4 separate regions of the Homo sapiens genome follow, and regions 2, 3 and 4 are each linked to region 1. Evidence: promoter capture Hi-C in human tissues and cell types (Jung and others, 2019). All regions are on one chromosome and are shown on one strand. The core of a region is centred on a gene start or on the middle of the fragment in contact, and the rest is flanking DNA. Distances in the headings are between cores, read along the strand shown.

Evidence for each region. Contacts are between HindIII fragments. The study calls those that stand out against the background at their distance.
Region 2: a fragment that was not itself captured here is called in contact with the fragment with the promoter of MTMR7 in region 1 in 1 of the 25 tissues and cell types used here (heart left ventricle).
Region 3: a fragment that was not itself captured here is called in contact with the fragment with the promoter of MTMR7 in region 1 in 1 of the 25 tissues and cell types used here (adrenal gland).
Region 4: a contact is called between a fragment that was not itself captured here and the fragment with the promoter of MTMR7 in region 1, in 1 of the 25 tissues and cell types used here (neural progenitor cells).

Annotation. Positions count from the first base shown.
Region 1 is chr8:17,410,625-17,416,840 of GRCh38, forward strand. MTMR7 (myotubularin related protein 7) reads right to left here and starts at 2,727. Exons shown (of 14, transcript NM_004686.5): 1 at 2,645-2,727. The coding sequence starts at 2,668. The HindIII fragment of the contact is 4,025 bases long and covers 1,798-5,822 here.
Region 2 is chr8:17,470,487-17,476,702 of GRCh38, forward strand. It overlaps the pseudogene ADAM24P. Among named protein-coding and RNA genes, the nearest start is that of SLC7A2, 23 kb to the right of the region's middle. The HindIII fragment of the contact is 4,731 bases long and covers 554-5,284 here.
Region 3 is chr8:17,350,544-17,356,759 of GRCh38, forward strand. The region is part of intron 4 of MTMR7 (myotubularin related protein 7); the gene reads right to left. All of the region lies in intron 1 of LOC102724838 (a long non-coding RNA gene), which reads left to right. Among named protein-coding and RNA genes, the nearest start is that of MTMR7, 60 kb to the right of the region's middle. The HindIII fragment of the contact is 3,773 bases long and covers 545-4,317 here.
Region 4 is chr8:17,451,126-17,457,341 of GRCh38, forward strand. No RefSeq gene overlaps it. Among named protein-coding and RNA genes, the nearest start is that of MTMR7, 41 kb to the left of the region's middle. The HindIII fragment of the contact is 5,181 bases long and covers 228-5,408 here.

The DNA.
Region 1 (6,216 bases), core at 1,477-3,976:
CACTCTGCTTAGCATATGCTCTGTTAAAGGCTTCAGTTAAACATACATGCACCCCTAGAAAGAAATATGTGCAAAGCATTCCAGATTATGCACGTGCATCTGTCTCCTTAAACTGCACTCCAGAGACTAAAGCAGAACACAGAGGCTGTCATGGATATTACACAGTCTACAGCGAGTGAATGACTTCCATTGTAACAGAAAAGCAACTGTACATTATACATGCATACAATTCTTTTCCTCTTAAAACTCTACTACCCACACAGTAAATATTGCTATAAACCCACAGTGGGCCAGAAAAACAAACTTTGTATACACTCCTTGCAAACCCAAGACATGAAACCATGAAATCGAAGGAAATTTACCTATAGTTTCACCAAGTATAATGGAAGCAAATAATAAAGATGAATATGACCAGTAACAATTATATATTTAACTCTGCAAGCTCTGTAAGTAATGTTGTTCTCTTTTTCATTTAGACTGTGAAAATTAATTTTGCCCTTAAAAATGTAAAACAAAAGGAGGATGTTATTTAACCTCAAGGAATCATTTATCTTTGACCATTGTTATTGTTTTCAGTTTCTTTAGGGTTGTAATTATTTATTACAATATATATTTATACAAGTACATGACCACTGTTGAAAATGCTCCTAGTCCTCCTTAAGTCCTTCCATGTTAAGACGGCTCTTCTAAGAAGGCTTCCCTTGACCTTGAGGGCAGAGCTGATCCTCTCTTCAGTCTCCCTCTCTACCCACTGCACCTTGCACATGTCTCTATCATACACTGACATATTTACAACTGCCTCCCCTTAGAGATTGTGAGTTCCTGGACGCTTCCAGCACTTAACACAGAGCCTGGCACATGAAAGGTTCTAAATGCTTGTAGAATAAAATAAATGAATAAATGAATCCGATCCATCCAACCTCTGTAATTTCTTATTTTTTTCACCAGCTTTATCCCAAATGTTAATGACTCACCCAATTCAGTAACACTTCAGACAATTTTCCATTTTCCCCCAATTTGTTTCCATTTCCAGATAAATAAGGATTTCTGACTTCAAGTACTGCACTGCTTAGAGGGTATCCATAAACACCAATTTTAAGAGTAAGAACACTGCTTGCAACTCAGGTTCACACGTGACTTTGTACCAGGTGGCTTTGTATATAGAACAGAAAAGGCCTTGACTCCCCCAAATTCATATTCTCTAACAAAGTGGCATCCACTGCCATGTCACTGTATCATTCTTGCTATCAATATCCACAACAGCTATCACTTTTACAAACGGCTCCCTTCATCATGGAAGGAGGAAGAATGCCCTTGGCAAGGGCAGAGTCCATGAGTTAAATTCACCCTTCTGGAATAAATTATTTAGTACCACTTAAACTCTGAAAGCTTTGAGCCACCTATTCTGTGGTTTGTAGCATTGTCTTCTAAGTTTACAATTTCATGATTGTGAAGCGACAACTTAATTCCCTAGTGCAAAATCAATACAATTTAAATTTACTGTCGGAACTGACATTCTCCAGCAAACTAAAAGATTTCTTCTTCCAATGACATGAGATCATTTTAATCTGCTTTTACAAAAAGGTACTCAGGAACTATTCCAAAATTTAGGAATCAATTCTTGCTGGCCATAAAGCAATTGCCCCCACCCCTCTTAAATGTGTGGGATCCCTGGAACCACCTGAGCTATGGCCACTCTGACCTAGCTTTGACCTGTCAGGGGCCTACATTTTGAATGGAAGTTCATCCTGCAAAAACGCAAGGAGCTGTGGTGGTAGTAACAACAGACAGCCAATAGGGTTTTTAAGCATATTCTTTCACTCGTTTAGGGTTTTTATCATGCAGTAACGTCGATCATCATTTTCATTCTAAATTAGATTATCAGTACAACTGAGGAGGAAGATTTGGTACAGCGATCAACGTTTCCAATGTTAATTTACTGGAGTGATCAGGGACCATTTGCTTTTGTTAATTAGCAAAAGCTGGTGTTGTTAAAACACAACAGTGCGTGACGAATCCGTAAGCTGCATCCTTTTCTCTAACGAACAAAACGGACTGGAAAAGGCAAGAACACACCATCATTCAACCTACAATGAATATTGATTATCCGTTCTGTGTAAGGCCCCTTGCAGCTGCTACGCTCAGGATGAGGATGCTGACTGGGAAGGCCGAGCCGGGTGGGCCTGACACCCTAGATTTAACAAGCTTCCAAGCGCAGGAGTCCCTCTGCATTTAGCTCGTTTTCCTTGCACCTGTCACCGAAAGGCTTATTTCCCTTTCAACTACTCTGAGCGGCCAACAGCTAAAAGAGAAAGCCTCGTGCCAGGAGAAAGAAGGGTTGATCTACACCCAGTTACTAGCAGACAACTGAGGTTCCCTCCCGTTCACCCTTGTGTCCACTGCGCTCCCCCAAAACCAAGAGGTCAGACCCAGCAGCAGCTAAGGCTAGGCCTGGGAGGCAGCAAGAGAACGACCGGGCTCGCAGGCACCCCGGGATGCTCAGGCAATGCCTGCTCCTCCCTCGCCCGCGGTCCAGGCTCCGCCGGTGCCCCTCAAAGCAGTCGGCCTCCCGCGCGCTCAGCATCCCTCCTCCTCCTCCCCCATCTCCTCCCGTCCCTCCTCCGCCCGCGCTGGTGTCACCAACCTTGGGCGTACGGATGTGCTCCATGGCTGGCCCACGTCTGCAGGGTCCCGGGCGGGCGCGGCCTCACGCACCTGCGCGCCTCTGCGGCGCGATGGGAGGGGCGCGGGGAGGGGGCTTCGCGCCCGGGAGTGGGCGGGACGCGGTCTTGGCTCCGCCCCCAGGTGTTCCGCGCGCGGCGTGCGGACCCGGGGCTCCCGCGCGGCCCTAGAGAGCCCACCTCCGCGCCTGCGCCCACCTGCGCCGCCGCCGCGACGCGCCTCTGCCTGGGGTTGCCGGGGCGAGGGCTGCTCGCTCTCTCTTAACAGGGGCAGCCGGCGGAGCACTATACGGCCACTGTTCTCCGAGACACAAAGAGGGCCTTGTTTTGGGTGTGGCCTCCTGGAAGAGAGATGGGGAGTACAGGCTGCTCCACACCGTCCCTGGGCTTCCTTCTAGGGCGTCCTGGGATAGCTAGGATTTCAGGGTGGGGCAGAAAAGAAGGCTGCCACAGACACTCTAGACCCAGGACGGTCTTGTAGGCTCAATGTGTGTGTTTCATCCCAGGCGCGGCCGGCATAGCGCTCGGGGTGCGGGTGGAAATAATAGCAGCAGTGTTAGCGCCTTGGTAAGCGCGCTCCTAAGTCAGGCATCTCACATCCACCTGCGACTTCACTGTTGCAGGCGACACTTTTCCCCTGGCACAGTGTTGGGTGCTCATTTGCCCTCTTTATTTAGCTCCAACTGAACTGAGAGATAGAGATACAAAGCATCCATTATGCGGTACCATTTCCCTATTGATGGTATTAACAGTAGTTGGTGCCATTGTTAGCGTTAGGCCTCTTGGGAAAAGCCAAAGAGAGGAAGAACGCCCTCCATTTTTTTTTTCTTGCAGCCCTAAGAGTACAATGCTCCACCATAAGTGAAATTTTATAGAATTCTACATAGTTCTGTTCAATTTTTTCCTCGCTCTTACTCATCTTTCAGGCTGGATTGTGATTTTTTTTTTTTTTCCGTAGAGACTCTGCTTACCGTTTTTTTATCTAATACCTGGACACATTGCAGCCTTCCAGCAAATAATTAATACGGTGTTGAATTTATTTTTAAAATTCCAGATCCCTCTTTCACAGGTCTTCTACCATTTCATCCTCCTACTGCTTTGGGAGGCAATTAGAACAAGTTTACCATTAGTTTACATTATTAGAAGAACTACTCTGGAAAGCCACAGCTGATTCTTTTGGAAGTGAAAAGAACACTTTCGTTGTTGTTGTCACATAAAGCCACTGAACTTTAACGCTGAATTGAGCCTAGCCTATACTATGTTGAAGTGGAAAGGGAATTTGAGAGTCAAAATAATGCACTGTCTCTACCTTTGTGTTTGTGATTTTTTTAAAGAGGGAGTTGGTAATGCCTTTAAAGATCTCTAGGGACACCTAACCATAAGCAAGACCTAAACTACTTGATTGCAAGTTACCAAACGTCTTCTAGAGAATTCTTCTTATGCAACTTTTATCACATAGATAATTCAGTTGCAAATACTTTTGCTAACAGAATTTTAAAATACAACCTTGATTTTAACTGGGCATTTTCCCAAAATCCTGTGATATTCAATGGCCTGAGGAGATTTGAATTCTTATCAAAAACACTTGCAAGACTTTTTCCAGAATACTTATATTTCTCTTGAGGCAAGGCAAACTTCTGATTTGGCAGTGAGACCAAACCCTGTTTCCTTAGGGATGGTATTGCTAATTATTACAAACTCAATACGATCCTATTCAGCGTAATTAAACCCAAATGGACCATATTATAAGTGGAGGAGGGAACACATCTCTGAATAAACTCAGCCTCATCTGGAGTCACTCAGTATGATAGGGTCAGAGCTGCATTTGGGGTTCTGCCTGGCAAAAAGTAAAAGCGGCCTCTCTTCAGGATTTTTATGAACTCAATGATGCAATGTATCAATGTCTCTGTTGGCCTTGCCCTATAACAAAGATGTGGAGGAAAAGCACTCAGTGGATTGCAGTCAGCTCTGCCCTTTTTCTAGCAGCCAAAAGGGAAATTCTAGGGCAGCATGAAAAGAGTGTTTACTCTGTGAACAGTCAAGGCTTTAAAATAGCCTCCTCCCAAAACTGTGAAACTGCTGGAATAAAACATAGGGGAAACTCTTCAAGACATTGGTCTTGGCGAGGATTTTTGGGATAAGAACTCAAAAGCATAGGCAGCAAAGGCAGAAAGAGACAAATGGGATTACATTAAATTTAAAAGCTTCTATACAATAAAGGAAACGACAGAGTAAAGAGACAGCCTACACAAGGGGAGAAAATATTTGCAAACTACGCATTTGCCAAGGGGTTAATATCCAGAATATAAAAGGAATTCAAACAACTCAACAGCAGAAAAACCAAATAGTCTGATTTAAAAATGGGCAAAAAAAACTGAACAGAGATTTCTCAATATGAGACCTACAAATGACTAACAGGTCTATGAAAAAATACTCAGTATCACTAATGATTAGGAAAATGCAAATCAAAACCACAGTGAGCTATCACCTCACCCCAATTAGACTGACTATGATCAAAAAGACTAACAATAACTAATGCTGGCAAGGAGGCAAAGAAATGGGAACCCTTATGCACTGTTGGCAGGACTGTAAATTAGTACAGCCATTATAGAAAACAGTATAGAGCTTCCTCAAAAAATGAAAAATAGAGCTACCGTACGATCCAGCAATCTCACCAGTGGGTATTTATCCAAAGGAAATGAAATCACTATGTTGAAGAAATATCTGCACTCCCATGTTTATTGCAGCACTATTCACAATGGCCAAATATGAAATCAACCTAACTGTCCATCAATGGATGAATAGATAAAGAACATTTTGTAGAGATACATAGTGTAATACTATCCAGCCACAAAGAATGAAACCCTGTCATTTGTGACAATATGGATGAACCTTGAGGACATTATAAGTGAAATAAGCAAGGCACAGAAAGACCCATACCGTGTGATCCCACTCATTTGTGGAATCTTAAAAAGCTGATCTCATGGGCGTCCAGAGTAAAATACTGGCTACCAGAGGCTAGGGAAAATCGGGGAGAGGTGGGTATGTGAAGAGATGGGTCAGTGAGTACAAAATTACAGTTAGATGGAAAGAATAAGTTCTGGTGTTTTATTCCATAGTATGGTGACTATAGTTAACAATATTTTATTGTATATCTGAAAATAACTAGAAAAGAGGACTTTGAATGTTCTCACCACAAAGAAATGATCAATGTTTGAGGTGATGGATATGCTAATTACCCTGATTAGCTCATTACACAGTGTATATGTGTATCAAAATATCACACTGTATCCCATAAATATGTGCAATTATATGTTGATTACATATAAGAATAAAACCTTTTATAATAAAATATTTTAACATTTAAAAATAATTAAAACAGCAAAGTAGTCTCCTGTATTTTGTTCTGCCTTCAGGAAGGCATACAACTCAAGTTCAAGACTGTGTCTTCAGAACACTTATTTCATTTCCTTTTTTTTTTTTTTTTTTTTTTTTTTTTTTTTGAGATGAATCTCACTGTTGCCCAGGCTAGAGT
Region 2 (6,216 bases), core at 1,669-4,168, 60 kb after region 1:
GATTTGCATTCATTATGGCACATGAGCTTGGCCATACTTTGGGTACGCCACATGATAGAATCCCATGTACATGTGCGGAGAAAATATGCATAATGTGTCCGACAGTAAACATCACATATAGGTTCAGCAACTGCTGTTACGAGATGTTGTTCGCAACCACTGTGAAAACGACCTGTTTGCGTGGTTCGCCAAATCCAGAGAACATCTTCACACACAAGTACTGTGGGAACGGTGTGTTTGAGGAAGGAGAGGAGTGTGACTGTGGATCTTTATTCTTGTGTACTCAAGATCTGTGTTGTTTGGCAAACTGTACTCTGAAACCTGGGGCTGCTTGCGCTTTTGGACTTTGTTGCAAAGACTGACAGTTTCTTCCATCAGGACACTGGTGTAGAGAAAAGCACAATGAATGTGATCTTTCAGAGAGGTGCGATGGAACTTTGCATAATTGTCCAGAAGATGTGTATGTGCAGGATGGCCTTGGTTGCATGGACAGTGGCTACCGCTGTCAAAAGGCATGTAGAAACCATGATGGACAGTGTAAACACATTTTTGAGAAGGTAGCCAAGAGTGCAAATCAGAGTTGCTACAGGGTGAACACCGACGGTGACTGTTTGGCCACTGTGGTTTCAATAACACTAAATATGTAAGATGTAATATTTCAGATATCCTGTGTGGGAGAGTTCAGTGTGAGAATGTGACAGAAATTCCCATTCCGAGAGATCATTCTATGATGCATTGGGCTCACTTCAACGGCATCAACTGCTGGAGTACTGACTACCATTTTGGAATGACCATACCTGATATTGGTGAAATGAAAGATGGCACAGAGTGTGGTTCAAAACATGTGTGTACACATAGGAAGTGTGTCCCTCTGCCATTTGAGGAAAGTACTTGCTCACCTGAGACCTGTAATATGAGAGGCATCTGCAACAATAGACATCGTCATTGCAATTATAAGTGGGCCCCACCCTACTGCCTGTTAAAAGGCACAGGAGGAAGTGTTGACAGTGGCCCATCCCCTAGGAAAAAAACAAAACTATGATTGCACAAGAAAATTTTGTTGATACTACTTTTATTAATTCCTGTGTGTCTCTGTTTACATTTGTTAATTTTGCTTAGTAAGAGCCAAAAACCACATCAGAAAGAAGAGCAAAATGTTCAAACTTCACCTGAGAAAGAAAAGCAAAACGTTCAGACTCCATCTGAGACAGAATAGGAAATTTTTACAATTTCAGAAAAGAAACTCAATCCTTAATGAAATATCCTGTGTATTAATTTTTAGTTCCTGGCAGTAGAAATGTTATTGCCGGTGTCAGAGACCACTGACAGAAAAACCCAGAGATCTATCATGTTTCAGGATTAACAATCACCATTAAAGAAAGGTAATTCCCAGTGTATTTCTAGTTTTCATCACTTTAAGCAATTTTCGTGGAACTTTTCTCTTTGTTTTTTTTTCTGAGCAAAGACACGACTTGTGGATGGGGTGGGGGTGTGTGTGTGTGTGAGCTTGCTCGGTCTCAATTCCAAGCCCTCTTCCTGTCCCTACTGTGCCCATGGAAAATGGGAACCCACAAATCGCAATTCTTTGCCAGTCCTCTCCGTATTCATTTCTGTCAATAGAGGAACGAGAGAGACTGGAAACCTAAGCGAACAGTTTGATTCCTGTTTATGTCAGTGCTGCCACAGTAACAGCTTTCACCTTGGCAGCAACAGTAGCTTTCAGTCTCTGCATTATTTTTTGTATATATTTAGGAACTCCCAGAACCAACAGTATTGCCAGCCCCAGAGATACTAGCACAGCTACAAACAGCTTACACTCACAGTTCTGAGTCCCCGGTCTTTGAGCCCTACACCAAATTTCAGAGGTTACAACCCCAAGTTGGCTGGACCCACTCCTCCAAGGTTGGAGTCCTAGAACCAGGGGACCTTTTCCAAAGCTTTAGGTTCCAATAACTCCAATCTTTTCCATTTGATCTCCACTCTAGTCATGAGAGCTACATCTTGTTAGTAATTCGTGGCTATCTCAGTGGTGTGGTTTCCCATTTTCTGTCTGAAGTCTACGTGATACAGTGCCTACCTTGGTAAAGCAGAGAACAGAGGAAGGAGTCAGATCTCAGAAAGCTTGGAATTTTTCTCACTATCCCCTTCAATTTCTTCAAAATCTAAAAAGAGCTTATTAACACTTGCCACTCAACTCCTTTGGAACTTTGATTATAAAATACGATAAAGAAGATGCTTACAATTCTATGTAGGATGTAATAAATTTTAGCAAATCATGTTTCCCCTAGGTTAAAAAAAATGGGGAAATCCCAATTAAACTTTAAAAATCATATTTTAAAGCCATCAGAGAGCTGTAGCAACAAGGAGGACTAGAGGAACTAAATTTCAGGCATGGAAAGCAATTGTGAAACGAGTTGAGTATTGCCAGCTGTTTCTTCCTCTGGTTTGCTTGCTGATGTGGGATATGAAGTAAGGATTAGGCTTAGCCCAGTCCGAGGACCTCTGCCGAGAGAAAAACCCACCAATCCTCTTAATTGCTACACAGGATTAAATTCAAACATTAGACATTTTGGAACCTTCAATTTGTAACCATTTCCCCCCAACTCACATTTGCTGAATTTGAGGGCGTTGTGGGATGCTGGTGAGCTAGCTTGCATTTTCTCAAAAAGACTAGTTAGCTAAAATCATGTTATATTTTGGACACAAGACATAGGTTTGTCTCCAGCATATGTACTGTCTCTTTAAGATGCTTCTCTGATTTTGAACTTTCTTTAGCAAAAGGCTGGACAGCTGGGGTGGAAACTTTGAGTGATAGTGATTCGTCCCCAACATCTTTCAAAGCTGAGGAAATACAGTCAGGTAGACTCCTAGTTGAGGATCTAGCAGACCCACGTCTGAGCAGTATTAAAAAAAGAGAATTAGTCCAAGCGTTAATAAAAAACTCATTTACCGGTGACCTGGTTCAGTCCATGACTGGTTTAGGTAATCATCTCCTCATGCTATCTTCCTAACAGGAGAAAGAGGAGAAAATCTCTAGTGAAGACACCTAGAGCTTCTGCAGTTTTTTTCTACACAACTTCCTGCATATAATAAAACATTTCTATTTACGCTAACAGTAAAATAATTATTACCTGTTATTAGAGAAAAAGGAAAAAAAGAAGAAGGAGAAATTTTTAATAGCATCAAGATAATCCAGACAGGGGAGCAAAAGTACATGAAAAAATGACTATGATAAATACATTTCAAAAAAAGAGAAAAATGTACAAAATGTAAGAGAGAATGTAGAGTTTCCTCAGTGAATTGGAAATTATCAAATGGGTATTTTGGAACTAGAAATTACAATTTATTATAAGAACTCAGTAGATGAATTGAACAGTAGATTGTACCAGTCAGATTACAGAATTAAGCGGAAGACAGGCCAATGAAAAAATCCCCACCCCAAAGCACACAGAAAAAAAGCATAGAAATAAGAAAGCAAGAAGTTTATGGAATACATGAACAGTTCTAAGAACCCTAATATTGGTGTTCCAGAGAAAGCAAAAAGAGATAATTGAATAGAAATAATATTCAAACAGCTCTTTGTTGGTAATTGTTTCAAAAAGGAGAAAATATTGCCTTCCACTGCTTGATAATGGGCCACATATTTCTCAGAGGCTCTTTGAATTTTTCTTTTTCTTGTTTCTTTCCTTTCTCCAGATTGTGTCCTCTCTAATAACCTATCTTCTAGTCTGTTTGTTCTTTGTTCTGTCTGTTCAAATCTTCTATTCTCCTCTATGAAACTTTTTACTTTGGTTATTACAGTTTTAATTTTAGGAATTTCCATTTAGTTCTTTGATACATACAATTTCTGTCTCTTCATTGATATTGAAGGTGGCTTTTTGTATAGCATACCTTTGATAAGAAGCTGTGTTTGAACGTCTTGAGTCAGTGAGGAATTTATTCATTAGTTCTAACTTGTGTGTGTATGTGTATTTAATTTTTGAGTTTTGTACATATATGATCATGTTGTCTGCAAAGAGAGATTATTTTAATTCTTCCTTTACAATTCAGAAGGCTTTTATTTCTTTTTCTCATCTAATTGCACTGGCAAGGACTTCCAGTACTATGTTGAATAAAAATGAATAGTGCGAACATCCTTTTCTCATTTCTAATTTTAGAAAACAAGCTGCCATGTTTCATCATTAAGTGTAATGTTAAGTTCCAGTTTTTTCATATATGGCCTTTATTATAGAAGGTAAATTCCTTCTATATATAATGTGTTGAGAGGTTTTATCATGAAAGGGTGTTGAATTTTGTCAAAAGCTTTTTCTGTATCCATCAAGATGATCAGGTGGTTTTTATCTTTCACTCTGTTAATCTGATACATCACATTGATTGATTTGCATACGTTGAACCATCCTTGCATCTTAGCAATGAATCACACTTGATCAGAGTGTATGATCATTTTTAAGTGGTGATGAATTAGAATTGGTAGTATTTTATTGAGGATTTTTGCATGTAAGTTCATCAGAGATACTAGCCTGTAGCATTCTTTTCTTGTGGTGGCTTTGTTTGTCTTTGATATAAGGGTAATGCTGGTCTCATAAAATGAGTTTGGAAGTGTTCCTTCTTTTTTCACGTTTTGGAAGAGTTTGAGAAGGATTGCTGTTAATATTTTAAATGTTTCATGGAATTTATCAGTGAAGCCACCTGGTCCTAGGCTTTTCTTTGTTATGAAAACTTTTTGAATACTCATTCAATCTCCTTATTTGTTATCAGTATCTTCCAACTTTCCAATTCTCTTGATTCAGTCTTGATATGTTTCATATTTCTTGCAATTTATCCATTTTTTCTAGGTTATCTAAATTGTTGATGTATAGTTCGTAATAGCTCCTTATGATCTTTTTAATTTCTGAGGTAGCCATTGTAATGTCTTTTCTTTCATTTCTGATTTTTTTGAGTCCAGATAGACTATCCATTATTATAAGTGGAGTATTGAAGTAGTCTCATATTATCATTTTTCTGTCTATCTATAGATAGATAGACAGATCTATCAATATTTGCTTTTTATTTTTAGGTGTTCTGATATTCGCTGTATATACATTATTATATCTTCCTGCTGATTTGACCCTTTTATCACCATACAATTTTTTTGACCCTAGTAACAGTTTTTGAAGAAAAGTCTATTTTCTATGATACAAAAATATAACCACTCCTGCTTTATTTTGGTTACCAATGGCGTGGGATATTTTTTTCCATTTTTTCTCTGTCAGTTTATCTGTGCCTACACCTAAAGTGAGTCTCATAGAAAGTGTATCTCTTGATCTTGTATTTTATCCATTTAGAGACTCTCTACTTTTTGACTGGGCAGTTTAATGTATTTACATTTAAATTAATTATTAATATATAAGGACTTACTAGTGTCATTCAGTTGTTTTGCAGCTGTTTTGTTTCTCTCCTCTCTTGTTGTCTTCCTTTTGTATTTGATGATTTATGTAATGATTTTCCTTTTTTCTCATTATCATTTGTTTATATGTCACAGTTTTTTGTGGCTATCATGAGGTTTGCATAAATATCTTGTAATTGTGTTATAACCACCTACATAAATTTATAACAACTTCAATCACATTTAAAAAACTCTACATTTCTGCTTCACCCACCCAGTCTATGTTATTGCAGTTAGAGTTCACTTCCTTTTATATTGCATATCCATGAACAAATCGTATAGTTATAGTTATTCATAATACTTTTGTCTTTTAACTTTTATATTAGAGTTAACATTAGTTTATGCACCATTATTACAGTGTTATGTTACTACATATTTGTCTATATATTTACCTTTACCTGCGAGATGTATGGTTTCATATGCCTATGTATATGATATTTAGCATGTTTTTATTTCAATTTTAATAACTCTCTTCAGCTTTGCTTGTAAGGAAGGTTTAGTGGTGATGAATTCCATCAGTTTTTGTTGTCTGGGAAATATTTTATCTCTCTTTAATTTTAAAAGGATAGCTTTTCCAGGTATAGTATTTTTGATTGGCATTTTTTTTTTTCATTCAGTACTTTGAATATATCATCCCACTCTCTCTTGGACTCTCTCCCACTTTCTCAGGAGAAATCCACTGATAATCTTATGGAGGTTCCTTTCTATATGAGGAGTTGCTTTTCTCTTGTTGCTTTCAAAATTCAAAAACCCTGTGTGGGGTCCTTCAGGCTTCTTGAATCTGAATGTCT
Region 3 (6,216 bases), core at 1,181-3,680, 60 kb before region 1:
ATGTTGGGATTATGGGAGCTACGATCTAAGATGAGATTTGGGTGGGGACACAGAAACCCACATCAAGGGGAAATACTTTATCTGCAGGCCCTGTGTCCATCTCCACCCACCTTTATCACTCTGGAAGATGGGTTTGTAGGGGTTGAAAACCCACAACTGAAATCCAAGCCTCTTATAAAGTCTTCTGTGATGATGCCTCCCTTGCTGACCTCCACTGTCTTTGTTAGCAGAATAGAAAACTACATAGAGCAGGGAATAAAAGGGCCACAGAAGAGATGTTCACAGGCCCAAAGTCTAATTTCAGGGTTCTACCAGACATTTTAGGAAAGAAGATTACCAAAGAGTTTAACATGGCCTGTGGCACTGACACTCTAAAGGAAAATCTGCCAAGAACAGAAGGCTCAACCAACTTGGACTCAGAGAGCTTTAGCTGGGAAGACTGCCATAAAACACGGCACTCCCTCCCCCTTGCCAATCTGGTGTCTGAACCTCCATGAAGTCAGCCAGCTAGAAGACTATGACGTGGACCACACCTGTTTGTTTGAGGTTCAAGAGACATGTAGTCATTGCACCAGACCAACAACATTTTCCTAAAATAACAGTTTTTAAAAGGAAATGAGTAGGTTTTCAGCAAGTTGGGAATTACCTACATTCTTCCTTGTAACAACACTAAGGAACTGCAAAGTTTCATGATTAAATAACAGTAACATGCAAGATTTGTCAACATGCTTATTTCAGACAGCCTCTTTGAAGAGCAAGAGATAAGCTCCTGCTAGGCCCTTTTATGGTCTTCTAAGGCTAAATAAACACCTAGGTTCACTGGCATCAAGGCCCTGTGTGCACCATAGCTGGAATGAGACCAAACAGAGAAAATCAACACCCAGAGGCCCACTCTCCTTGGCCCCAACTCAGGGCCCTCTTGATTCACAAAGGAGCAAGAAGACCACCTCCTGCCCTCTAAGAGCACCAGAGCTCTCACTCTGCAGAGTAGAGGTATGTAGATTTTGATGGCTTGGCATGTGCCAGGACAAAGAGCTCAACAACCTGCGCCCAGTCACCAATGGCCAGGCTTGCATCAGATGTGGAGGCCTCCCCTCTATGAACACAATACCAGTTATGAGGATTTCTGCCTTCCCCAGAGCACTGGGTCTAGGGGAAAAAGCTCCATGGGTCACAGCTTAAGTTATAAGGCATTCTGATGAGTACTTGCTCGGGGAACTCTAAGAAGCTAGAATGCATTTGAGAAAAGCAGATTTAGGGTGTCAGTTAACACGGGAAGATACAACCTCTTACCAAGCTAGAAGCATGGATATTTGTCCTGCTTTCATCAAAGTAGACAGCACTCTCAAGTGGAAATTAAAATAACAATCCTACCTTGAAAATATAAAACACCACTGAAAGGAATTAAAGACACAAGTAAATGGTAAGATACCTGTGTTCATGCACTGGAAGACTTAATATTGTGAAGATGTCCATCCTACACAAAGCAACCACAAGGCAATCCCTATCAAAATCTCAAGGGCATTTTGTGCAGAAGTAGAAAAATTCATCCTAAAATTTACATGGATTCTCCAGGGACCCCAAATAGCAAAAAACGATTTTGAAAAAGAACAAAGAGGACTTACACTTCATAATTTCAAAATATAGTACAAAGCCATATCTATTTTGCAGCAATCAAACAGTGTGGTACTGGAATAAAGACAGACAAATAGGCCAATGGAATAGAGAACCCAGAAGTAAACCCTCATGTATATGGTCATATGATCCATAGCATGGGTGCCAAGACTACTCAATGGGGTAAGATTAGTCTCTTCAACAGATGGTACTGGGAAAACTAGATACCCACATGCAAAAGTAAAATAAAATAACGATGGGTCATATCTTGTACTATATAAAAAAATTAACTCAAAATGGACTAAAGACCTAAACATAAGACCCAAAAGTATTAAACTCCTAGAAAAGAACATAAGGGACAAGCTTTATGACATTGGAGTTGGCACTGATTTATTATGTATGACAGCAAAAGCAGAGACAACAAAAGAAAATACTAGACAAATGGAACCATATCAAACTTAAAAACTTTTATACATCAAAGGACACAATCAAAAGTGAAAAAGCAACCTACAGAATGTGAGAAGCTATTAGTAAATTGCGTATCTTAGGGAAATCAAAATCAAAACCACAATGAGATGCTAACTCACAATTGTTAGGATGGCCACTATTACAAAATGAAAGAATGAAAACATAATAAAACTAGTACTGGTGAGCACTCAGATAAATTGAAACCCTAGTGCACTGTGGATGGGGATATAAAATTATGTAACCACTATGGACAACAGCATGGAGGCTCTTCAGGAATTTAAAAATAGAATTCCTACATGATCCAGCAATCTCACTTCTGGATGTATGCCCAAAGGACTTGAAAGCAGAATCTCCAAGAGATACTTGCACAACCATATCCGCAGAGCATTATTCACAGCCAAGAGGTGGAAGCAACCCAGATGTCCATCAAGTGATGAATGGATAAGCAAAATGTGGTATATCATTACAATGAAATATTATTCAGCCCTAAAAAGGAAGGAAATCCTGTTACATGCTATAACACAGATGAACCTTGAGGACATTAAATGACATAAGCCTGTCACAAAAAGAAAATACTGTATGATTCCACTTATATGAGGTATCTAAAGTAGTCAAATTCATAGAAACAAAAAGTAGAATGATGGTTGCCAGGGGCTGTGGTAGGTGGGAATGGGGAGTTGTTTAATGGGTATAGAGTATCAGTTCTGGAGTTGAAAAGTTCCAGAGATCTATTATAGTACAAGAATGTCAATCTACTTAACACTCCTAAACTATACCTTAAAAATGACTAAGATGGCAAACTTTACGTTATGCATTTTTTAAATCACAATGAAAAAAGAAAAGGGAAAACAATCTTAGCATTGACTGCTGCCATTTTTGCAACAAGCTCACAGAGTTGTAGTCAAAACTCTGACAATACATAATGCGCACAATGATGCAACATATGTCGCTAATTTTCAAACACCTCAGTATGCCTCTCAGGATTTTGTCTGGTTTGGAAAACCACCTGACAAAATTCAGAGAGAATATGAGAAGTTCAGAGGAATGGAAAATGTTTTTCTCCTGAATTTTCTTTACATGCACTCTGCCTTAGTTAATGAAAGTGGATTAGTCAGTTAATCACTTTGCCATTTTTTAAAATGAATAAGGAAACCGATTTTCTTTGTGCTCCACTAAATTAATTGACCTTCCTGGAGTGCCCACATCCCTTGGTGCTGTCCTGGCAAGGGGAATCTTTTGGTAACTCTTTCACTCATTCAACAAGCTTTTACTGAGTACTTACTATACGCCAGGCATTACTCTCAGCTGCAAGAGCAGAAATGAGTAAGAGTTTTTGGCCTTGAAGATTTCACACTCCCAGGACAGCTGATCTTTGTTAACCAAGTTAGAATCTTCCAGTAAATATATTTATCACTGCAGGCTACTAGCCATCTAAGATGCAATCCAAAAGTGTCACTCAGCCCTCCAAGGACCAATCATTCATCTGAGCACTGTAGGGTAAGAGTTGTCAGAAACTGAGAGATATCTATACAGACAATCTTCTTAAACATTTCAGTGCTAAAATTTATTTCAAGGAATTTATGATGAACAGGGAGAAGGAGGAGGTTATGAACAGGATAAAATGACATATATGTGAATAAAACAAAATAATGCATGATACATAAAATATAGCTGTGGAGAACTGAAATAAATGAGCTTTAATAAACTGACTGGTTTGGGTTGTATTTTATATTTTATTCCAAGAGAGTTAGATTAAAACTTTAACCTAGCAATGAATACAAATTACTTTATTTAAATAAAGACAATTTCAAGGGTTAGGTAAAAAAAGAAATCTGAGCTTAGAGACTTAGACTACCATAAGCAAGTGTCTTATAAATAGCGATGGTGGTAAGATGATACAGATAATAGTAATAATTAGCCTGCCCAAGGCCAAAGAAAATAGCAGAATTGGTTCTAGAATCTAAGTTTTGTATTCTACGTCTGCTGTTATTTCCACCATCGACAATTGTTTCTTTTCCATCAAATGACACTTCCTGACCCACCGACCTCAAAGGATTTGTGAGAAGAAATAAGATAAGTTGTCAAACAAGAGAGGAAAAAGTAAACGTTTTCTCAGCCATGGGGTCAAAAGCAAAAGGAATGGATTTGGATATCTCTCTCTCCATGGATTATTAGTCAAAAATTTTCTGAAATAAGACAACTTGTGTTCTCTTGCTAAGTTAGTGACAAATCAGGATACATCATCTTCCTCCCATTTCGGTGATATTTGCAAAATCAGAAAATCCCCTAGGTTTTTACCTTTTCTGCTTCAAAACAGTTTGTTCCTTGTTAGTTTTGTTTTGCTGTTAGTTTTGTTTTGCTGTGTGTTGCTTCTGAAAAGAAATGCTGAGTAACTCATGTTTTGCAGGCTGTGCAACGTAGGACTTAAGTGACTATATATGAGTCATGTTTATGCGCTAATTCTAGAAGGAAATCTCATCAAAAACAGAAGAACCTGTATTTCCAAGGAGACGTTATTCCACAAGATGTGGTTCAGTCTCATTTTCTTCCTTGCCCAAGGATGTGTCATATTAACAAAAAGAGTATCCAATTTTCTTTACTAAACTTGGATTTTCCTTTCTTTCAAGGCTAAAAATTCACTGCAAAAGTTAGCTTTAGTATGAGAACAAATTAGTCTGATTACATGAGTCAGATACTTTATAATAATTAACTTTATGGTTGTTAAATTTAAGTGTAATTAAGAGGAAGATTCAGTGTCATGGAAGTGTCCATTCTAGCCCAAATAATCCATAAATTCAAGATATCCTGATGAATTATGTCAAAGAACTGACTTTTAAGTATCAAGATTATAAAGCCATAATAATCATAACTGGTAAAAATATAATTGTGGGATTTATACAGCGTCAAATTGGGACAAAGTTTAGCAAACAGACCAGGATTAAAAAATTAAAAAAAAAAACAGTATGCTAAAAGACAAAACATGGTAAGAAAGATTGACAACTCAAAACTTCTGAAGAAACTTGGAACAGTGTATCAGAATCTCCTGAGACAAGATATCTGCAAGAGCTATAAATTATAACAAATTATTGGCTACATTATATAAAGAACTACAACAAGAAAACAACAAATAATCTTATAGAAAAAAGAGCAAAAATGTGAGTAGATAATTCACAGAAGAGTCAACATGAACAGCCAAGAAACACAAGCTTAACCTCACTAGTCAATCAGGTCAATGCAAAAACCACATCGAGATCCAATTCATACCAATCAGTTTGGCTCAAAGTTAAGACCAGTTAATAAATCCACATGGTTATATAAATGAAACAATACCAAAAGGTGCATAAAATGCTACAAATAAAAGCAAAGGAACAACAATGCTAAACTGCATCCAGTGGTGCTGGAGCAGGAGAAGAAATCCCACTTTCATCCTTGTGTCCTATCCACCCCATTACCAACACCACTCTAGGTTATCACTTTTGGGCAAACGTGTTATTATTCTCCCTCCTTTGTTAAGCCAAAAGGTATTATACTATATTCACCATATTGTGTCTTGCTTTTTCTAACCTAACAATATATTTTAGCAATTTTTATCAGTACATAGGAACCTTCCACATTTCCTTTAATGGTTACAAACTAACTTAATCATACGGATAGAGCAAAAATTATTTAGCTGGCCCCCATTCCAAGAATTAGGTTCTTGGAAAGTCACAGTTTCCAAGAAACTAATTAAAGATATTTGGGTTTCTTCTAATATTTACTATTATGAAAAACGCTTCAAAAAAATAACCTTGGGGTCCAGGCATGGTGGCTTGCCTGTAATCCCAACATTTTGGGAGGCAGAGGCGGGCAGATCACTTGAGGTCAGGAGTTCAAGACCAGCCTGGCCAACATGGTGAAATACCATCTCTACTACTACTACTAATAATAATAATACAAACATTATCTGGTTGTGGTGGTGGGTGTCTGTAATCCCAGCTACTTGGGAGGCTGAGGCAGGAAAATTGCTTGAACCCAGGAGGCAGAGGTTACAGTGAGCTGAGATCGCCCCACTGTACTCTAGCTTGGGCAACAGAGTGAGGCCCTGTCTCAATAAAATAAAATAAAATAACCTTGGGTATCAGTGTGTGTGTATGC
Region 4 (6,216 bases), core at 1,568-4,067, 41 kb after region 1:
ATTATCCGAGTAAGAGAAGGGCTTTTCTTTTCTTCTGTATTGCAAATCAAAGAGAAACTCCCTTTCCTTGACATATTCTCTGGGTACATTTTTTTAACTTTTATTTTAGATTCAGGGGTACACGTGCAGTTTTCTTATATATAACTCATGTCATGCGGGTTTGCTATACAGATTATTTCGGCACCCTGGTACTAAGCATAGGCCCTAAGAGTTATTTTTTCCTGCTCCTTTCCCTCCTCCCACCCTCCACCCTCAAGAAGGCCCCAGGGGCTGTTGTTCCCTTGTATATGTCCATGAATTCTCATCATTTAGCTCCCACCTGTAAGTGAGAACATGTGGTATTAGTTCTATAATGAAAGGCAAACAGTCGCAGGTAAGGAAAACAATGCTGGGAAACAGAAGCAAATTTGATAATTTGCATAAGCCAGTCCACCCTTCTTCTGAGGCTGGTGATGCATGGTGACTGCATGTGGCCTGAGCTTTCTCTTCCTTTGAAATGTTACTCCTTGCACTGGTATGTCATCCCTGTGACTGCAGTTGGTCCCTTAACCACGTGTAGAACCTTGTCTGGTGGCGGGTGGTTCTGTTCCATTGTGAGGTTCACTTTCAGTCTAAGGGCTCGTTTTCACTCATTGATCTCCGTACGCAGGGCCACTGAAAGAGCATCACGTAGCAAAGCTTTTCAGGAAATTTGTGTCACAGGACGTTTAACTCTGTTAGGGAGAGTTGGCAATGATTATTGGAGTCCAGTTATATGGAAAATCAGCACAGTTACCCACCCATTATCCAGTTTTCTAGGGGGAAGTGTTAGGGGGAAAATAATTGCTTAATAAGAGTAAAACTTGTATTACAGAAGAAAATAGTGCACTTTATTAATAACATTTAATAGATAATATGTAGTCTTTCATGTTCAGAAATGGCCATTTTCTAACTATCCTTTTCTAATAACAAGTCATTCTGTCCAGTCTTCGTGACAAGATAGTTGTTTCTAGGAAGAATCAGTAGATTGCAGTGGTGTTTTTTTCCCCCAACCAATGATTTCCGCAAAATCTAGGGTTTTTTTAACCTCTGGAAAGCTATTTAAAAACATTAAGGAATTATTTTTGATCTCCTACTGCGTTATGGCTCTTGTTAGATGAAGCCAAGCAGAAACTCATTAAAGACCAATATATTCCATAAGTGAAGTAACTTACTTTCTAGACATGTCTAGTAAAATCATCTAAACTCTGGAGTAGGAGAAACCTGGTTACCTAGCAGAATCAGCAGCAAGCTGAAGTAATATGAAAAAAGGAGTCTGAAAATAGGAAAGAAATCTCTCCCGGCATCTCAAAGTCGGTAAAACTACAAGCACTTCTAGGCATTCCCTGTTTCAGAAGGCAGGGATTGAGGGGGAACATGCGATGTAGATTCAAAAGGAAAGTCTATCAAAATGCTCTAAGAAAGGGGGCAGCGGAGTTTAAATCACAACGGAAGACCCAGAGGCAAACCTGAAGTGATGTTCATTTAGTTTTGCTTTGAGTCTCAATTTTTACCTTTGTCTTGTGTCTCATTTCTCTAAGCTTTAAATCAGTGACCACTTTGTGTAATGTGCTGGACTCACACACAATAACATCCAAGTCAGAGACCTAAATAAATAAATTGAAAACAATTCAACAAAATCTGTTCCTGGAGAGCTGAACCTGAGCAGCCCCCATGAAGTCTCACTGGCTGTAGGTATCCAGAGGTGTTTGTTCTGTCCCACAGGAAGGAAGCCAGTGTGTCCTGAGGGCATGTCCTGAGGGCATGTCCCTGGCACTTAGGTTGAACAAAGCTGAACACTGTGGGTGGATAAAGGTTAATCAGGTGGTGGGAAGTCAGGGAGGTGGGGAGGAAAAGCTACAAAGAGAATCAATGGTTGGAAAGCAACGCAGCAGGTAAAAGTTGAAATATCAAAGAAGATGAGGTTCAGGGACCTTGCAAAATCTACAGAGAATAGAGACAAACTTTGAAATGAGTTGCAGTAGGACTGGAGCATAAGGAACAGAATCCAGGAAAGTGTGGAAACTAAGAGGAAACTGAGGGAGACATAGGTTCTGTATGGACATAGCAGTGCAGGTAGGAGCAGTGGTTATTGACCTCCAGTAATGACAGTCACAGTTGGGGTCTGTATGTTTATTATAAGTAGACTCCAGGTCCAAAGGTATTAGGAATTGGTAGAATGCCTTTTGGCCCAAGGGACTGAGGACCTATGGACTTTGCTTTTTCAGGTCGTACTATTAGAGCACTAGGGTCCTTTCTAATTTCTGTTCAGTGCCACCTGCAACTTCTTTTTTTCCTTTTTCTTTTTTTCTTTTTTTTTTTTTTGAGACAGAGCCTCATCTGTCACCCAAGCTGGAGTGCGATGGCATGATCTCAACTCATGGCAACCTCCACCTCCAGGTTCAGGCTTGCAACTTCTGAAGAGGGTTGAAAAGTCCACAAAGATTAGGGAGGAAAAGAATATGACGTCATGTCTGTCAAAGAGTTTGCTATTTAAGGGCTTTGGATCTCACGGTGTCTCATGCCTGTAATCCCAGGACTTCAGGAAGCAGAGGTGGGCATATCACCTGAGGTCAGGAGTTCGAGAACAGCCTGGTCAACATGGTGAAACCCTGTCTCTACCAAAAATACAAAAAAATTAACTGGGTATGGTGGTGGGTGCCTGTAATCCCAGCTACTCAGGAGGCTCAGGCAGGATAATTGCTTGAATTTGGGAGGCAGATGTTGCAGCGAGCTGAGATTGTGACACTGCACTGCAGCCTGGGTGAAGGAGCAAGACTCTCACAAAATAAAAAAAATAAAAAAATTAGAAAAAAAGGCTTTGTATCTAAGCACTTGGTGGTTCTCCAACTTTTATGTGTATGAGAGTCACAGTGGTGGGGAGTGGCAGGAGATAGTTTAAAATACAACCAATCCAGAGATGCTGTTTCAACAGATCTGGGGTAAGAACCCAGGAATCTGTGCACATAATCAGAGCTGTAGGCCATTCTGATCGGGCCAGTAGCTGACACACACGCAGCGTGGTGCCAATGAGAAAAAGGTGCCTCCGGTGGGTGGACCAATTTAAGAGCCCTTATTTCTCAGGTTTCCCCACAGTCTTGCCAATGAGAACCTTTTGGCCATCAGGGCTGGTAAAATTTCAGTCCCACTCCTCCCTACTTGGCTGGGCAGACTACAACCTCTACAGCCTCCCTCGGTGGTCCTGATCCTTTAAAGGTGTTCTTTGAACCTACTTTAATTCATCCTAAACTGCCCTGATGACAACAGTGTCCCAGTAGCTTAAGGAATGAGAGGACCGGCTGGGCGCAGTGGCCTATGCATGCAATTTCAGTACTTCGGGGAGCCGAGGTGAGAGGGTTGCTTGAGACCAGGAGTTCAAGACCAACCTGGGCAATATAGCGAGACTGCATCTCTAAAAATAAAAATAAAAAATAAAAAATAAATTAGCTCGATTCAGTGGCTCACACCTGCAGTCCCAGCTACTCAGGAAGCTGAGGCCGGAGGATTGCTTGAGCCGGTGAGGCCAAGGCTGCGGGGCGTTATGATTGTGCCACTGCACTCCCGCCTGGGTGACAGAGCTTGACCCCATCTCAAAAAAAAAAAAAAGAGAGAGAGAGAGAGAAGTCCCTGGGTACCACTTTAAGCCTATCAAATAAGACTCTTCAAAGGCCCAGATTGAGAATTAGTAATTTTAATAAGTGTCTCGGTCAGACCCTTGGGAAGCACCGATTTTAAAGGGTGGTAAAACACTAACGCAACCTTTCTCCTTGGTGTGTTCTCTCTGCCTGGGGAAATCAGAGGCATCTTTCTACTCCAGATCCCATTCCTTCCCAGAATGGAATAGAAAGACATAATAATATGGACAGAAAGAGCAGACTTGAAAAATATTTATGAAGGTCAAAATGCAGTGGAAAAATATAATCCAAAACAAGATACATGTGTTCATGGAAGAAGAAATTGGGAATATTTTCTTGTAGTTTTAGGCTTAACCAGCTGTAATTGCTGGATTGGCACCTACAGTGCCTCTTTCCACTTGCCACACTGTGCAAGGTGATAGATGAAATAAATTCAAACTTTTTCATGTCACCATACCTACGGATGTTGAACACTTTCAGCTTATCTGCTATTATTTTTGCTGTAAGCTTATCTGCTAATAAACTTATTAATTAAAGAATAGGTGTCTCACCGTTTTGCCTTTCATTTTATAAAATAATACCAAAAAGATCTACCAGGAAAGAGCAAAAGTAAGTCTGAATAAAAATGTTAGAGGGCCTGGCACAGTGGCTCATGCCTGTAATCCCAGCACTTTGGGAGGCTGAGGTGGATGGATTGCATGATGTCAGGAGTTTGACACCAGCCTGGCCAACATGGTGAAACTGTATCTACCAAAAAATACAAAAATTAGCCACAATGGTGATGCATGCCTGTAGTCCCAGCTACTGGGGAAGCTGAGGTGGAAGGATCACTTGAACCCAGGAAGTGAAGGTTGCAGTGAGCCAGGATCAAGCCACTGCACTCCAGCCTGGGCAACAGAGTGAGACCCTGTCTCAAAAAAAAAAAAAAAAAAAGTTAGAAGTGGATCCCTCATTTAAATATTCAAATATTCTTATTTTGTAAATGTCTTAAACACAACAACAAAAGGGTGAATAAAATACAAGCTCTAGAGTCTGGTAATTATGTGGCATTATGGTGATCAAATTTCTATAATGTTTATAACATTATAGGATCAAACCCCTACAATGTGTGATGTTTGGAATTGCAACAGTCACCAGTGTCTTATTCTTCTGAAACTAAAAATAAAATCTCCAATATGGTGACCTATAAAAGCTGGATTCTATTTTTAAAAGTATTCTGGCCAAGAACTGACTTAGTAATGTGTAAGTGATTGTAAAATGAGACAGGATGATTTTGGATACTCCTGGCTGGTATTTATGACCAGCTAGGGTCCTTGATCACTTGATGGTCTAATGACTACTCACAACCAGGCTTGAGCATGGTTGACAGCCTTGGGTCCTGTGTTCTTCCAGCAGGCTTAACAAAATTGATTCCTCATGAATGTAGATGGTCATATTTACTTCTGGAGGGTAGCACCTATGCTGTGAATATTTGCTAAGACACGTTACACATGAAACCACAATGGGAAAAGACCTTTCTAAATCTATAGGTGTGCTTTTCACAAAGACAGGATTCTTTGTGAGCAGCAAATAGCAACTTTGCCAACGATCTGATTAAAAAGCCAAAGGTTTGAGTGACTAAAATCTGTGTCTGGGATACGGGTGCCACAGAGGCTGGAAACATTGGAAAAGCCTGTGACCGTGGTTCCAAGGGTGTGGCACTGAGAAACTCTTGGCCAAAACATTCTGATGCTGCTGAAAGAGGGACACGGAACAGGGACCTGCCCCTCCCAAAATCCAGCAACAGTTTTCTCAACATTTACATCAGGTTCCTGAGAAAGAAATTTCAGCCTTTTTTTTTTCTTTTTGTAATCAGTATTTTTTTTTTTTTTTTTTGAAACAAGGTCTTCTTCTGTCACCCAGGCTGAAGTTCAGTAGTGTGATTATGGCTCACTGCAGCCTTGACTTCCTGGACTCAAGCGATCCTCCCACCTCAGCCTCCAGAGTAGCTGGAAGTACAAGCACATGCCATCACACCCAGTTAATTTTGTTTATTTTTTATAGATACGGGTTCTCACCATGTTTCCCAGGCTGGCCTCAAACTGGCTCAAGTGATCTTCCTGCCTCAGCTTCCCAAAGTGTAGGGATTAGAGGCGTGAGACATTGCATCCAGCCTGGAATCAGTATTCTTAAATTAAAATGAAGAGCAAATTTCCTAGAGTTGTCTTTTGAAGTGCTTATTGGGTTTTAAGGGATGTTGAATTTTTCCTCCTTAGTCTATTGTGTGGCAGATGCTTGGCTACTCTGTCACTGTCCAGTATCTGTACATGACTCAGTTTATGTGCACCTTGGAGGGGGTCGTGCAATAAAACTGGGAGTTTTGCAGTGTGTCAGATTCCCATTGGTGGGGCGCCTGTATCAGCACACATTAAAATTATAAAACCAGATACTGACTTCCAAACTACGTATATAGACTGATAGCTACTGCCACACTTACCCACTCTCAGCTGTCTGTAGTCACGTGTACTGTTGAAAAAGAAACACAGGAATAAAAATAGAACCTTCAGGGCCAGGCATGGTGGCT